2 separate regions of the Homo sapiens genome follow, and region 2 is linked to region 1. The links are contacts of gene promoters, found by promoter capture Hi-C in blood cells and fetal thymus (Javierre and others, 2016). All regions are on one chromosome and are shown on one strand. Each heading gives the region's core, a stretch centred on a gene start or on the middle of the fragment in contact. The rest is flanking DNA. Distances are from core to core; before and after follow the strand shown.

Region 1 (6,956 bases), core at 1,053-3,552:
TAGATAACATATTAAAAGAAAATATAAGTATAGAATCATGGTCTTTCTGAGATTTAGGAATTTGGAGATTCTTTAATCTAGCTGCTTATATTCAATTTAAAGATCTGAGCCCCTGATTGGTTTAAAGCCTTGTTACCCAGTCTGGTCTGAAGACAAGCAGTACCAGCATCATCTGGAAGCTTATTAGAAATGCTGATGCTTGGGCTCCATCAGGCATTCTGATTCAGAATTTGCTGCTTACAAGATCCCAAGTGACATGTATGCATGTTTTTGAGAGCGCTGGGTTAAATGATCTACCGAGGTATATGGTTCAGAAATAGCAACAACCAATAACTAAACTTCTGATTTTCCAAAACAAGATCTCTCTTCTACATTATTACACAACATCTTCCCTTCTCAAGAGGAAAACAGCTCTGTTATGAATAATGGATGCCCAGGCTCCACTGCAAACTCATTTCTTGGGGTGGTGTTCAGGCATTGTATTTTTAAAAGCTTCCAAGTACAGCCAGGGTTAGAAGAGTCTCAAGTAGTCACTATAGTATAGTGATCAGGGAAGGTTTCACGAAAGAGAGCTAGGTATTTGGTCTTGAAGGACCAGATGGATTCAGAGGAGCTAAGGGTATTCCAGATGAGGTATGGCATGGAGTGGGTGGGAAATGCCAGGAGAAAAAGAGGACATGGCAGCAAAGAGTGTTTTAGAAAGCAGGCAATCCAGATTTCTAGATGGAAACTCCTAATTATTAAATGCTGAGGTCTGTCAAAGATGAAACTGGAGGCTGGACACACCAAATATCTGTATGACAGAGCTGTACATCTAGACGGTGGACATCTAGCATCCCTGTCTATATGCAAGTCAGCTGGCTGCAAGACCACGTGCTGCTGAAAATCTCACTGTGGTCATGACAGTCCACCCAGTGGCTCAGACCCTGAGATTCTGTTCACACTTCCTACACTCTTCCTTACTCGTCTGTGTTCTTCCAACTCCTCATCTTGCCTAATTCCTCAGGCAGCACCTCATCCTGTAAGTCTTCATTTCCAGGCTTAAGAGATGTCAGCCATCTGTGTCTTTATTGTACAGCCAGCACAAGTGAACACTTGAACACAGGCATCCCTGCATTGTTGTTCTGAACCTTTATGTGTATTAACAACTAATTTCTTGGTGATGACTGACTCATGAGGCAGAGAATGATGTTGAGGGATGAATCCAATTGACACTGGACATGTCTCCGGAGCCAGGACTGAACTGAATTCACAATAAATAATGTAGCCTCGGGGTACCAGAAGGGAATGGATTCACCCTCTGAGAGCTACAAAAGAATTTTAGGAAATTCTCATCTCCCTGGCCCTTCAGACAGTGGTCATTTTCTTGGTCTTCCAAGAGAATGACAAAGTTTCAGAAAGCCTATCTGAGGAAGGTGAAGGGCAGTGAGAGGGTGCACGGGTGGAAAAGCCCTCTCAAGAGTGACGTGGGCCTTCCCCTCGAGCTCCCCAGATGGGGCGTCCCAGATGGCACCAGCGCAATCTTGTTCTCAACCAGGATCCCGGACAAAGACCTAGAGATCCAAGCCGACGGCAGGCCAAGCTCTGGCCCGAGACTGAGGCTTCTGCTTCTCAGGAGATGAGAGTTTAACAATAACTTCGTGGATTTCAAAAAGAAGAAAAAGGTCTCAGGGCACCGGAAAAGGTGTATTCGGGTTGAGGGCGTGGGCTCAGAATCGGGTCTACCTCGTACGGGATGTGAGACTTCAGGCAGACTGCTCGGCCTTTTCAAGGCTTTAAATGGAGCTAAAGGGTATACGACATGACGTTCGCCCGGTGTTTAGGAATATGGGGCGTGACTTTCCAAGCAGGCGGCTGGAGCCAGGGAGACCACAGGCCGCTGCAACACAAACCAGCACCTGAACAAGCTTGGTCAGCCAGCGGTACACCTCCGCCAACCCCAGAAGCCGAACAGATGCGCCCCGAAACGTCATTTCCGCGCGCCAAGGGGCGGGGCCGGTACCGGGTGCGGAAGTCGCTCCAGGGGTCACTGGGAAGTGTAGTTTTCGAGACAGAGGCGCTCAGAAGGAGGGTCACAGTAGGGCCAGGCACTCTTCTCGGGAGCTCCTACGTGTTTTATGCACGTGGTTAAGAAAAAAGAGGGAGAATTCAGGTGCCACAGTGGCCATTCTCCGGTGACCGGAGCGTGTTACTCAGAAACGGATCCGTCAGAGGCCAATGGGAGCTGCCGGCCTTCAGGGCGCGCCTGGTGGCGCCGAGCATCCTGGGAGGTGTGGTCCGGGCGCTGTGCCGAGGATTCGGGGTAGTGTAGTCCTGGCGCCCCGCTGGAGGAGCTCCCCAGCTGGTGGCTGGAGCGACCCCTTGTTCTTTGGTGGCGCTGGTGAGTGAGGCTCCCGCGGGACCCTTGCCGCAGCCGTACCCTTTTCTGCGCGAAAAGGAAGGTCCCGAAAGGCTGGACTATGGGCTGAATTTGGGGACCGTGCGGGTGGCGCGGGGGTGGTGATTGTGGTGGGAACGCGCTGGCGTGGCGCAGGCCGTCCTCTCCCAGATGTCTTATTTTGGGGGTGTGGGCGTGCATCTCCAGGGGAGTTGGGTGAAGCCCATCCGTGAAACTGGATGGTGATGAGTGGGGGATCGGGCTCTCTCTCCTAGGGTTCTTGTGGGTGGGGACAGGTTCGGCTTTGGCTGAAGTCGGGTATTGGGAAAGGGAGTCGCTGATGCCATAAGTCCCCGGTTTTGGGGGAGTTGAATAAATAAGCTTTTTGGGGGAATGGTATTTCCCAGGTGGTGGAATGGGAACCATCCCTGGGGCCATGTGTCCCCGAGGCATTGGTCGGTTGAGGGCTAGTCTCTTGGGGCCACACTATTCTTCGGCTTTGCTGGAGTGGAATGAGGAGCGGTCTGGCTTGACCAAACAAGCCAAGGTTAGACTGGATCTGGGGTGGCCATTTTGCCGCGATCTTAGGGTTTCACTTTGGTTGGTCACCCCCGGGTTCGGGCGTTGGAGGAGGAAGTCTGGCTGGGACGCACAGGACAGGTTTTTTCCAAAGGTCCCAGGGACCGTCATTGATCGCAAGAATTACGGATTCCCAGGCCCCTGGTGTGGCCAGGCTTTGGGATTTTACATTCCATTTAAGTTTTTATTGCGGAGAAATTTCAAACAGCCAGAAGTAGATAGAACTCTATAGACCAGATCTCCATCACCCAGATTCAACACTTAAAACCTTATGACCAATCTTGATTCATCTCAGAATGGACACAGAGAATCCTTGCAATCCAGAGTTCACCGTCACTGCCCTTACTGTGTAAGAGCACGGTCTCCACAGCCACATTTCCTCTAGGCTCTGTCACTTTATAGCTGTGTCACCTTGGGCAAGATGCTGACTTCACTGTACCTCAGTTTCCTCGATTTTATCCTAAAGAGGATAATAGCATCTATCGTATTGGGTTGTTGAAAGGATAGAATGAGGTGAAACTCCTACAGTGGCTGTAACAGTCTCTGGTGTATACTAAGTGTTCAGTGAATATTACCTTTCATTAATAACAGGCACAGAGAAGGTCGCTTCATGCTCAGCGTCAACAGCATATCAGGGCAGGTCGTGCTTTCAACCTGTACCCCAGCTGTGTTCCCAGGAAGCTGCCCGCAGTTCTTTTCTCCTTTTCTTCTGTGGCAGGTTCATTCCTGATGCTGTTAAGGAATAGGAGGTACTGCCCTGCTGGAGAGGATTTCCCTTGATTTTCTTGAACGCTTTTTGTTCTTGTTCTGCCTCCCTGTGGCTCCTGTCTGCCCAGAGAGGACTGCCTGCTGGGGAAAGGGGGTACTCCTGAGCTCCTGACAGCCCAGCTTCAGGTGGGTGCCACTTACCTTTTGCATTTCGAACCATGAGTGGGTTTCTTTTGCTCAGCTTTGACGTCTGTGTTCTACAATGTCCCATCCAGGGATCAGGGCCCCAGCTGGTTCCTTCAGGAAACTAGGCTTGTTTTAAGAGTGATCATTTTCACAGGGAATATTTTTCAGAGCTGATGCTCTCATTCATTACACCTATATTCTTCCCCTACATTCCTTCTTTCAGTATTTGTTCAGACTGCTCATTCCCAGGGCTTGTCAGGTCCTGTGAAGTTGTTAACATTCTGTTCTTCTGTCTTCCAATACTCTCACTTACTCTTTTCCCTGCTAGAGTTTTGGCAGCAAATCCCAGTTATATCATTTCACCTGGGAACACTTCAGGAGGCATCTCTAACACATAAGGACTTCTTTTTTTAACATAACCACAATTTCATTGTTATACAGTTACATTGTTACAATTATATTTTGTTATACCCAACAAAATTAATAACTTATTAATATCATTTAATATCTAGCCCATATTGTTTTCCCCCATTGTTAAAAAAAAAATCTTTTTTTTCCACCAGTCAGAACAGCCCTGGTCAGAGGCAGGAGAGGGAAAAGTATCTGGAAACAGCATCCCAGTTTTCCCTATCTCTGCCTCATTTCTCCTCCTATTTCTTCTGATCTTGCTGATCTGTGTTGACAGCCTTATAACTTGATATAAGCTGGACCTCTGAGTTTTCCTTGCATCCTTGTTTCCAAACTTACTTCCCATTAGAAGTTGTGTCCTCCTGGCCGGGCACAGTGGCTCACACCTGTAATCAGCACTTTGGGGGGCCAGAGCGGGCAGATCACCTGAGGTCAGGAGTTCGAGACCAGCCTGGCCAACATGGTGAAACCCCATCTCTACTAAAAATACAAAAATTAGCCAGGCGTGGTGGCACACACCAATAATCCCAGCTATTCAGGAGGCTGAGGCAGGAGAATCTGTCGCCTGGGCAACAGAGCAAGACTCCACCTCAAAACAAAACAAAAGTTGTATCCTCCTATTCCACCTGTGCATTCTTCTCGATTCCTTTTCTTTCCCTTTGTCTCCATTTCTGCACTGCCCTAGCTTCCTGTCTCTTCTTCACCTTCTTGCCTTGTCTTTCCTCCCATTTAGAGCTGAACTCCTTGAAAGAATTATCTATGTTTGTTGTCTGCGTTGCTATCCTTCTGTTATGTTTCGAATATTTTAGTAAGGCTTTTTCAAGTGACACCAAAAAATATTCTTGTCAGGGTTACCAATGGTCTCCTTGACTAAAGGCCACAATCAGTTCTCAGCAACATTTGATGTAATTGTTTACATCCTCCTTCTTAATATATCCTTTCACACAGTTGCTCTTGGTACTAGGTCTTCCTGGTTTTCCTCCTAACTCATAGCCTGCTCCTCCTCTGTCTCCTTTACTGGCTCTTCCTTCCCTCCCAAATTTCCACCGTGGAAAAGGCCCTGCTTCAGTTCTTAGACCTCCTGTCTTCTTCAGCTATACTGTCTCCTTGGTTCTCCCGTTCATTCTCAAGGCTTTAAATGCCATCTGTCTGAGGCTCAGCCTAGAGCTCTGTGTGCAACTCACATCCTGGTCCCCTACTGTCTCCTTCTTCACATTTCCAGTTGGATTTTTTTTTTTTTTTTTAGTGAGACAGGAGTCTCGCTCTATCGCCCAGGCTGGAGTGCAGTGGCACAATCTCGGCTTACTGCAACCTCCACTGCCCATCTTCAAGTGATTCTCATGCCTCAGCCTCCTGAGTATCTGGTCTACAGGTGTGTGCCACCCCACTTGGATATCTTATGGGCATCCCAAAACTAATGTGTGCAACAAGAAACTCTGATTACCTTCCCTGAACATGTTCCACCCCAGTGGTATATAGACCATCCTTTCAAGAGTTTATCTTGGAGCAGAAGCATTTCAGCTCTTTCCTTCAGATTGCTTGGAGTCATCAAGGAGTCATCCTTGATCCTGTCTTGCTCTTATACCCTCATCCACACTACGGAAATCTGGACTCCGACAGTTTCCATGCCCTGCTGTTTCCACCATGGTCCAGGCCACCGTCTCATCTGGACGATCATAGCCTTTCAGTGATCTCTTTGTTTCTGCCTATGTCCCGCTAAGGTACATGAATCAGTGGAGCAAATAGAAGGAGATTTTAAATGTAAATCGAATCATGTCATGTGTTTGCTCAAAATCTTCCAGTGGCTTCTCATCCTAACCAAAGTCAAAACCAGTATCCTACAAAGCTAGGTCTGATGTCCCTACATTTACTCTTGGCCTTCATCTGTACCACACTATCTCAGTCACTCCACACCAGCCACAGTGAACTGTCCGTCCCTTGGCCATGCCAGCCTGATTCTTCCTTGCATCAGGGCCTTTGCACTGACTGTTCTCTTGCCCTAGATGTTCTTTTCAAAGTTATTCCCTGGGCTCTTCACATCCTTGAGATTTTTACTCAGTCACCTCAGAGATGCCTTCCCAAATCACCCTATCTAAAATTCTAAAACCTCACCCCACTTCTGTGACTATCCTTTCTCCTTCCCTGCTTTATTTCTCTTCATGCCACTCATCACTTTCTGATACAGTGTGTATTTTATTTATTCATGTAATTGGCCCATCTTTCTCCTCTAGACTTTCATGTCAGTGAGGGTAGATTTTTGTCTTTGTTCACTTCTGTATCCCCAGGGTTTAAAATAGTGCCTATCACACAGTAGGAGCATAATAAATACTTGCCAAATGAAGGCATAATCCATAGGAGTAATGGATGAGGCAGACTAGGATGTTGGGAAATGGTCTACAGAGACTGGCAGGAGGCTTTTGCCATTGTCCTGGTGCTCCAACTGGTGTAGGGGTGGGGAGGAATTGAGAGAGTTGGCAGAGGTGGAATCCATTTGCCTTGATAATTGGTTTGATATGGAAGGTAGAGAGAAGTAGTCATGGGACTGAGTAAGTGCCATGGATGACAGGAAGATGCTTCTGTTATCAGGTAAGCTGAAAGAGAGAGGGCGCAGTATGTCAATAACCAGCAAGGGTTCTGGTTATTGACTGCTACACAACAAACCACTCTAAAACTGAGTGGCTTAGGAGAGCAACTATGT
Region 2 (7,588 bases), core at 2,194-4,693, 2.8 Mb after region 1:
TTGTGAGGGACTTCATTCTTTTCTCCTAAGGCCTTCAACTGACTGGATGAGGCCCATCCACATTTTGGAGAGCAGTCTACTTTCCTCAAAGCCTACTGCTTCAAATATTAACAACATCTAAAAAAAAAGTCTTCACAGTCATGTCTAGACTGGTGTTTGATAAAGCAACTGACCACCATGGCCTAGCCAAGTTGACACATAAAATAAATTCACAATCACACCTCTCCTCTTGATGACCATCACCTCTATATTAGTCCATTTCACACTGTTATAAAGATACTACCTGAGACTGGGTAATTTATAAACAAAAGATGTTTAATTGCTGCATGGCTGGGGAAGCCTCAGGAAACTTGCAATCATAGCGGAAGGGGAAGCAAGGCATGTCTTACATGGCAGCAGGCGAGAGAGAGAGACAGAGAGAGAGAGACAGAGAGAGAGCAAGCTCTCAGTGGAAACTGGCAGACACTTACCAAACAACCAGGTCTCATAAGAACTTCCTCACTACCACAAGAACAGCAATTACCTCCCACCAGGTCCTTTCCTCGACACAGGGGTATTACAATTCAAGATTTGGGTGGGGACACAGAACAAAACCATATCAACCTCCCAGCAAGGATGGCATCTTACCTTCTATTCTTATCTTTCCACTTCCCAGTGATTTATGTCCTCCCTCTCCCTGTTCCATGTTTATCCATCTTTCTACTTCATCTTTAGATCTGCATGGTTCAACAAAGTGGCTACTAGCTACATGTAGCCTCTTAAATTTTAATTTTAATTATTAAAATAAAATTAAATTTGGCTGGGCCCAGTGGCTCACACCTGTAATCCCAGGACTTTGGGAGGCTGAGGAGGGTGGATCACCTAAGGTCAGGAGTTCGAGACCAGCCTGGTCAACATGGCAAAACCCTGTCTCTACTAAAAATACAAAAATTAGCCAGGTGTGGTAGTGTGTGCCTGTAATCCCAGTTGTTAGAGGGTGCTGAGGCAGGAGAATTGCTTGAACCCAGGAGGCAGAGGTTGCAGTGAGCTGAGATTGCACAACTGCACTCCAGCCTTGGCAACAGAGTGAGACTCCATCTCAAAATAAATAAATAAATAAAAATTAAATTAAAAATTCAATTTCTCAGTTGCACTAGCCATATTCAATTGCCCAATAGCCATGGCTAATGGCTACCAGATTGGATATGTCTGCATAATGACTGCAAAATGAAATCTTGTCCTACTTTCATATCTATCATGGATTGAAATGTGTCCCCTGCACAATACATATGTTGACGTTCTAACTCTCAGTACCTCAAAATGCAGTCTTCTTTGGAAACAGGGTCAATGCAGATGTAATTAGTTAAGATGAGATCATACTGGGGAAGGGTGGGCGTCTAATCCAATATGATTGGTGCCTTCATAAAAAGGCAGAATTTGGAGACACATACACAGGTAGAACACCATGTGAACATGAAAGCAGAGGTCAAGATGATGTGTCTAGAAGCCAAGGAACACCAAAGATAGCCTGCAAACCACCAGCAGCCAGGAGAGAGGCATGCGGCAGATTCTTCCCCACAGCCCTCAGAAAGAACGAGCCATGCAGATATCTTGATCTTCAATTTCTAGCCTCCAGACCTGAAACACAATAAATCATGTTGTTTAAGACACCTAGTTTGTGGAGCTTTCTTACAGCAGCCCTAGCAAATTAATATAATATCCAAGCAGTTATTGACTAAATATACATGATTTAATTAAAAGCAGCATAGTGTGTACATTTTAAAATATAAAATGCTACTGCAGGCCAGACACAGTGGCTCACGCCTGTAATTCCAGCACTTTGGGAGGCCAAGGCAGGTGGATCACCTGAGGTTGGGAGTTCGAGACCAGCCTGACCAACATGGAGAAACCCTGTCTCTACTAAAAATACAAAATTAGCCAGGCGTGGTGGCATATGCCTGTAATCCCAGCTACTCAGGAGGCTGAGGCAGTAGAATCGCTTGAACCAGGGAGGCAGTGGTTGCGGTGAGCTGAGATCATGCTATTGCACTCCAGCCTGGGCAACAAGAGTGAAATTCCGTCTCAAAAAAAAAAAAAATTTCTGCTGCATTGAGAGGCCGAGATGAATCAGAACAGGACTTGTTGGGTTTCCCACTCAATTAGTGTTAGATCATGTCCCCTTTGTCCAATCACGCTTCTACACGACTGTCGATCATGCCTATCCAATAAAGTCCCCATAAAAGACCCAAGGGGACAGGGTTCAGGAAGCTTCTGAGCTGGCTGAACATGTGGAGGAGGTTCCTGGAGGGTGGTGTGCCCGTGGAGGGCATGGAACCTCTACACCCCTTCCCCCAGACCTCACCTTATGAATCTTTTCATCTGTATCTTTTGTGATATTCTTATAATAAACTGGTAAATGTAATGTATATATACATATATATGGAAATATGTTGAAATTAGAATTTCCCAATATTAGAATATATGTACAATTCTAATTTCAATATATTTTCCAGAATCAATTTTGTTTTTGAGCTACAAAAACAACAATTTCATTTGGTTCACCCAAAGATTCATGTGACTTCTGGGCCGAGACACTGGCTTCCCTTGCTGTTTGCTTAATGGGACCACTAGGGATCCATATTTTGAACTAGACTCGTTAATATTACATAGATTTCCAGCTAGGTGACTTTGGCCAAGCCCCTTATCTGCCCTGAACCCTTTTTCCCCTGTAAAACAAGGGGGTGGGGCTAGACTCCCTCTAAGTTCTAGCTAAGACATTCTAGGACTTAGAGGAAGCCTTGATCTAGGCAGACTTGATGACCCTTGGTCCAGTGAGCTAAAAGCAGGGCTGCTTACAGAAATCAGCTCAGCTAAATAAAGAGTTTGAAGAAAAATATTAAAATAGAGGGCTCTGGCAAATTAAATATTCAAAGTGAAGAACTCAGAATTTATTGAAAGCCTGTCACCATTTAAAATGCATAATTTTAGCATAAATACTCTAGAAATATTCCTTTTGTTTGCTATGTGTTATTGTTAATAAAGGAGATCCTACATCTAGATTTGTCATACGTCATTAATGAATCAACCATAGGATGTAAATTATAATTATTTTGAATTATCTATTTACTGTTTAATTACATTTAATTTTAGATTCTCCTAAAATGGCCTAATAAAAATTTTGGGTGCTAAATGACTGCCTCATCTGCTTACTCTGTGCTACTTGCTAAAATTAGTTATATTAATTGTTTGGGGATTCTTTTTCTTAAAAAAAAAAACTAACCCTGGGGGCATGGTCCTAAATAAAATATCCTAAAAATTTAATGCTTTTCTTTTCTTTGCCAGGGTTGTAGTAAAATGTTAGTTACACTAAACTCATTAAAATAAACCTTTGCACATTACCACTGAATCAATTGGATATAATCTGAATAAAAACTAAATAAAAGTCACATCAGTGCTACCCTTGGACCAGGGCAAGAAGGCCTCTGCCCTGGCTTCTGTGTATTAGAGGTTCTGTTCTAGCCCTTCTCTGCCCATGCTGCTCCACGCAAGGCAAGGAGGTCCCAGGGCCAGATGACAGGCCCACCTGGGGTGCTCACACACATACACACACATGCTCTTCTAGAACACGTTCTAAGTACCCAACACCCTTACCTTCCCTGCTCAAAGGGGCCCAAGCTGCTTTCTAAGGCTTTAAAAGGCCTCTTGGCTGGGTCTTTCCTGCAAGGGTGACCATCACTGGCATGCTCACTGCCCGGCCAAGAGGAGGCTGAGGTGGGGATGTAGGCAGAGTTGGGACTTGCTGGCTGGAGAAGAGGAGGAGAAGAGGCAGGGCACACACATCCCTGCTAGTGTATGAGACCCCCTCACAAAGCAAGACTGAGCCTGGGGTGGGAAATGGAGTTGGGGGGAGCTGGAGAAGCAGGCAAACTAAATTCCACCCTGGTTGTCCAGGTTCTTAAGAAGGCATATTGGTCAAAGTGGAGAGGAGAACACGTATTTTACCTAAGTTTGTTATCTTGAATTATAATTCAATATTTAGGCGGATGGTATGAGGGCCTCCATTCACACTCTTGCCCTGGAACTGGCAAATGTGAATGGAAGGCTGAGTAAAATCATAGTTTTGTGTTGTTGGCCTTTGAGTGTTCCATCTCTCTTACAATTTTAGTTTGTCACACCTTGCACCTTGTATGTGTAAGTAAAATTAATGGCATAGGAAAGAAACCAAAAGAAGTGAACAATAAGAGACTAAAGAAACTCTACAGGCCGGGCATGGTGGCTCATGCAAGTAATCCTAACACTTTGGGAGGCCAAGGTGGGTGGATCACCTGAGGTTGGGAGTTCAAGACCAGCCTGGCCAACATGGTGAAACCCCGTCTCTCCTTAAAATATAAAAAATACCAAAAAAAACAAAAATTATCTGGGTGTGGTAGCGCACACCTGTAATCCCAGTTATTCAGGAGGCTGAGGCACGAGAATCTTTTGAACCCGGGAGGCAGAGCTTGCAGTGAGCCGAGATCACGCCACTGCACTCCAGCCTGGGCAACAGAGTGAGACTCTGTCTCAAAAAAAAAAAAAAAAAAAAGGAAAGGAAGGCAGAGAAGCAGGCTAAGGCTTAATTTTTCTGCCCAGTGGGTTTTGAAATATGGTTGGCTTCCTTCAGGAAGCTTTTTCCCGACGTTGGTGATGATAATAAAACCTGATGCTTTCTATGTGCTGGGCCCACTTATAAACACTAACACATATTAACAATCGAATCCTAAACTAATCCTGTGTTAACAGCCTCCCACTTTACATATGAGGAAACCTGGGGTGACTTGCACACGGCTTGGCAGCTGGGACGTGGATAGGGAATGTACACCCAGGCAGTCTGGCTCCCGGGCTCCTGCTAGAGGATCCTACAGGACATTAGGAGCATTGTCCCTTAGAGCTGTCTGCACAAACGTCTGCTTCCCAAGCAACTAGTTATCAACTTTTCCCTCTCGCCAACGATACTGGCACCTGGAACAATCCTTAGATTCAGCACGGATTTTCGAGTAAGGGGTTGGTCCACTGTCGGGGCTGAGCACGGCTGTTTAGCATTTGAGGGTTTGTCTTTTTTTACTTGGTGTTTTGTGTCGCTTTTGAGTGCTGATATAATAGAACAAGCTTAGTACAGTGCCTGGCACTCAACAAATCCTGGCAAGAAAGGAGATCGAGGAAAAGAAGCAAGCGAGAGACGAAAGAAAGGGAGGGAATGCGCCTTGTAACATTAACGTAGCTTGTGCGAATCCTGGAAGGTGAGGGGAAAGGAGACACCGCGTCAAGGGAGAGAGGAGAGGGCACCGAGCGCCCGCCCCTCCGACGTGGTCCGCCCCGGCCTCACGACGCCCCGCCTCTGCCACGCCTCTTCCCCGCCCCATGCAGGTCTTCGTCCCGCCCCCCACAAAGCCGGCTTCCGCCCCGTCCCTCAGCGGCGCCCCGCCCCCACGGCGTCTTGCCCCGCCTCCTGCAGGCGGCCCGGCGCGGTGTTTACCCGCGGTGCATGGTGGGGCGGTCTCCTTCGGCAACCCCGGCCGAACGGCCACCCAGAGGCTGTGCTGAGCTGGCGCAGCGGCAGCAGCATGAGCCGGACCCTCGCATCGGCCGTGCCCCTGTCGAGTCCCGACTACTACGAGAGGCTGGGCCAACTCCAGCACGGGCTGCGGGACAGGTAAGGGCACTGGGGCGGGGGTGGGGAGTCGGCCCGCGCCGGGGGTCTTCCGCGTGCCCTGCCCCATTTTCCTTCCCGCTCCCCCGTCCGAGGTTCCCCGGGGCCCAGGCCCGCGCGCAACGCCCCCCAGGCTCCCAGTGGGGCCTGGAGGACAGTGTTTACTAGAGCCACCCCCTGTATTGGGGGTGGGAGCGGAGAGAGGTGAGAGACCGCCCCCGCCCCGTCAATAGCAGCTAAAGCCTGGTCTACGGTTTGAGGATGCGGCCGCGTCACAGAATTTGCCCAGAAGTGAAGGTGGGAGTTCTTCTGCCTGTCACTCTCCATCAAGCCTTGTGAGTTTCTCTTGTCCCCTTTTACACGCCCCCTCCCCACTCTCTTCAAATTGCCATCCCGCCGTGACAGCTGCACTGCATCAATGATGACAAGTCCTGGAACGCAGACGGTTGTGTGTGTGTGTGTCAAACATGTGCCCCCGTTTAAACTCAGGAGACTTTTAGGGGTAGCGAGGGCTGGCTAGATTTCCAGCGAAGGGATGAAATTTCCAGCTAGAGAAGTCCAGCTTCCAGAGGGTTCATGATGCCTTTGATTAAGATATGAAAGATGGGAACCACTGAAAACAGCTAGATCTAAGAGTGCATATAGAGAGAAAATTATACCGCAATGTACTATGAATAACCACGTAAAAGATAAATTGCTGGACCTCTTATTTAGCTGCTAAGTTAATTGGAGTTGTAACTCTCATTAGTTGACAAGAAAGGAAATACATTTTTGGATCTCTTGATAAACAAAACATTTAATGAGTGTTAAAAGTTACAAAATCATTCTAGTGAACAGGAGAGCTGTGTGCGTGACAGTGCTAAAATGATAACAATAATTACATGGAAAATAAAGGCAGAAGTGAGCGATTTTGAAAAGGAATTACATTTATCTTACGCTAGATTTAATTCTTGTCAGATATTTATAGAGCATCTACAACAGGCTTCCTTAATTGTCGTTAGCATTTTTTTTACCTTGTACTCCTTTTCTACGTCCTATTTTCTTTCTGACATGTCACCGCTCACCCATATCAGTGACCTCTTAATTTCTGACTTTAAAAAGAAATCTCTTCCTGTAGAGCCTTCCCTGTTTCAACCCATTCCCTAACTTTTGTGACTCTTGGCATTCTTACAGCACTCATAAATGGCATTCTTTTTGAACTATTAATTGTAAGTTATTTTTGTTTCCTGTGCTAGGAACACCTGGCTGTTTATAGTCCTTATGGCACAATAACTGTATAATAATTATGTACTTTATGATTAACACTTATTTAATTATTAAACAAGGTGAGGCTGTTGAAAATATATAAGGAATGTGAATCAAATTTTATAGCCTGTTCACGGTTCTGCATTTCGAGATTTGTTTTATTTTTAAGTCAGTACAAATCTGTTGCTGTGTGTGTTCATTTTTCATTTTAAGAATTTATAACTAACTCAAATTAATGCACACTGGACACAGTTATAGAGGCAAATAATTCTAGATACAGAAAAGGCTGCAGTAGAAATATCAAAACCTGGATTCTAGTCCACGAACAATTGTGTGACCTTGAGCAGGTTGTTCCACCTCTCTGAACCTTGGTTCTTTACCAGGAATGAGGGGGCTTGACTAATATGCAAAGTAAGGCCACAGATTTTTTTCTTTCTCTCTTTGCTAGAATAATGGGCCTTAAAGTAAAAAAAGAAAAAAAAGCTGAAAGCTGTAGTTTTGCAAAGCAATGTGTAAAGAATATTATTGTCTGTATCCAATTTGAGTGTTTGGATGTACCTTTTTGTTTGTTTGTTTATTTGTTTGAAACATAGTCTCACTCTGTCACCCAGGCTGGAGTGCAATGGCATGATCTCAGCTCACTGCAACCCCCACCTCCCAGGTTCAAGCGATTGTCCT

Evidence for each region. Contacts are between HindIII fragments. The CHiCAGO score rates a contact against its expected background, and 5 or more counts as called.
Region 2: a contact is called between a fragment that was not itself captured here and the fragment with the promoter of ZNF133 in region 1, in 1 of 17 cell types (fetal thymus). The highest score is 7.8, in fetal thymus.

The regions. Positions count from the first base shown.
Region 1 is chr20:18,286,225-18,293,180 of GRCh38, forward strand. It overlaps ZNF133 (zinc finger protein 133), which reads left to right and starts at 2,303. Exons shown (of 7, transcript NM_001352452.2): 1 at 2,303-2,380. RefSeq lists enhancers at 1,876-1,925, 2,005-2,910, 2,016-2,355, 2,916-3,035. The HindIII fragment of the contact is 851 bases long and covers 1,906-2,756 here.
Region 2 is chr20:21,120,537-21,128,124 of GRCh38, forward strand. It overlaps KIZ (kizuna centrosomal protein), which reads left to right and starts at 5,546. Exons shown (of 13, transcript NM_018474.6): 1 at 5,546-5,668. The coding sequence starts at 5,580. RefSeq lists enhancers at 5,015-5,114, 6,015-6,064 and a silencer at 5,275-5,854. The HindIII fragment of the contact is 2,396 bases long and covers 2,246-4,641 here.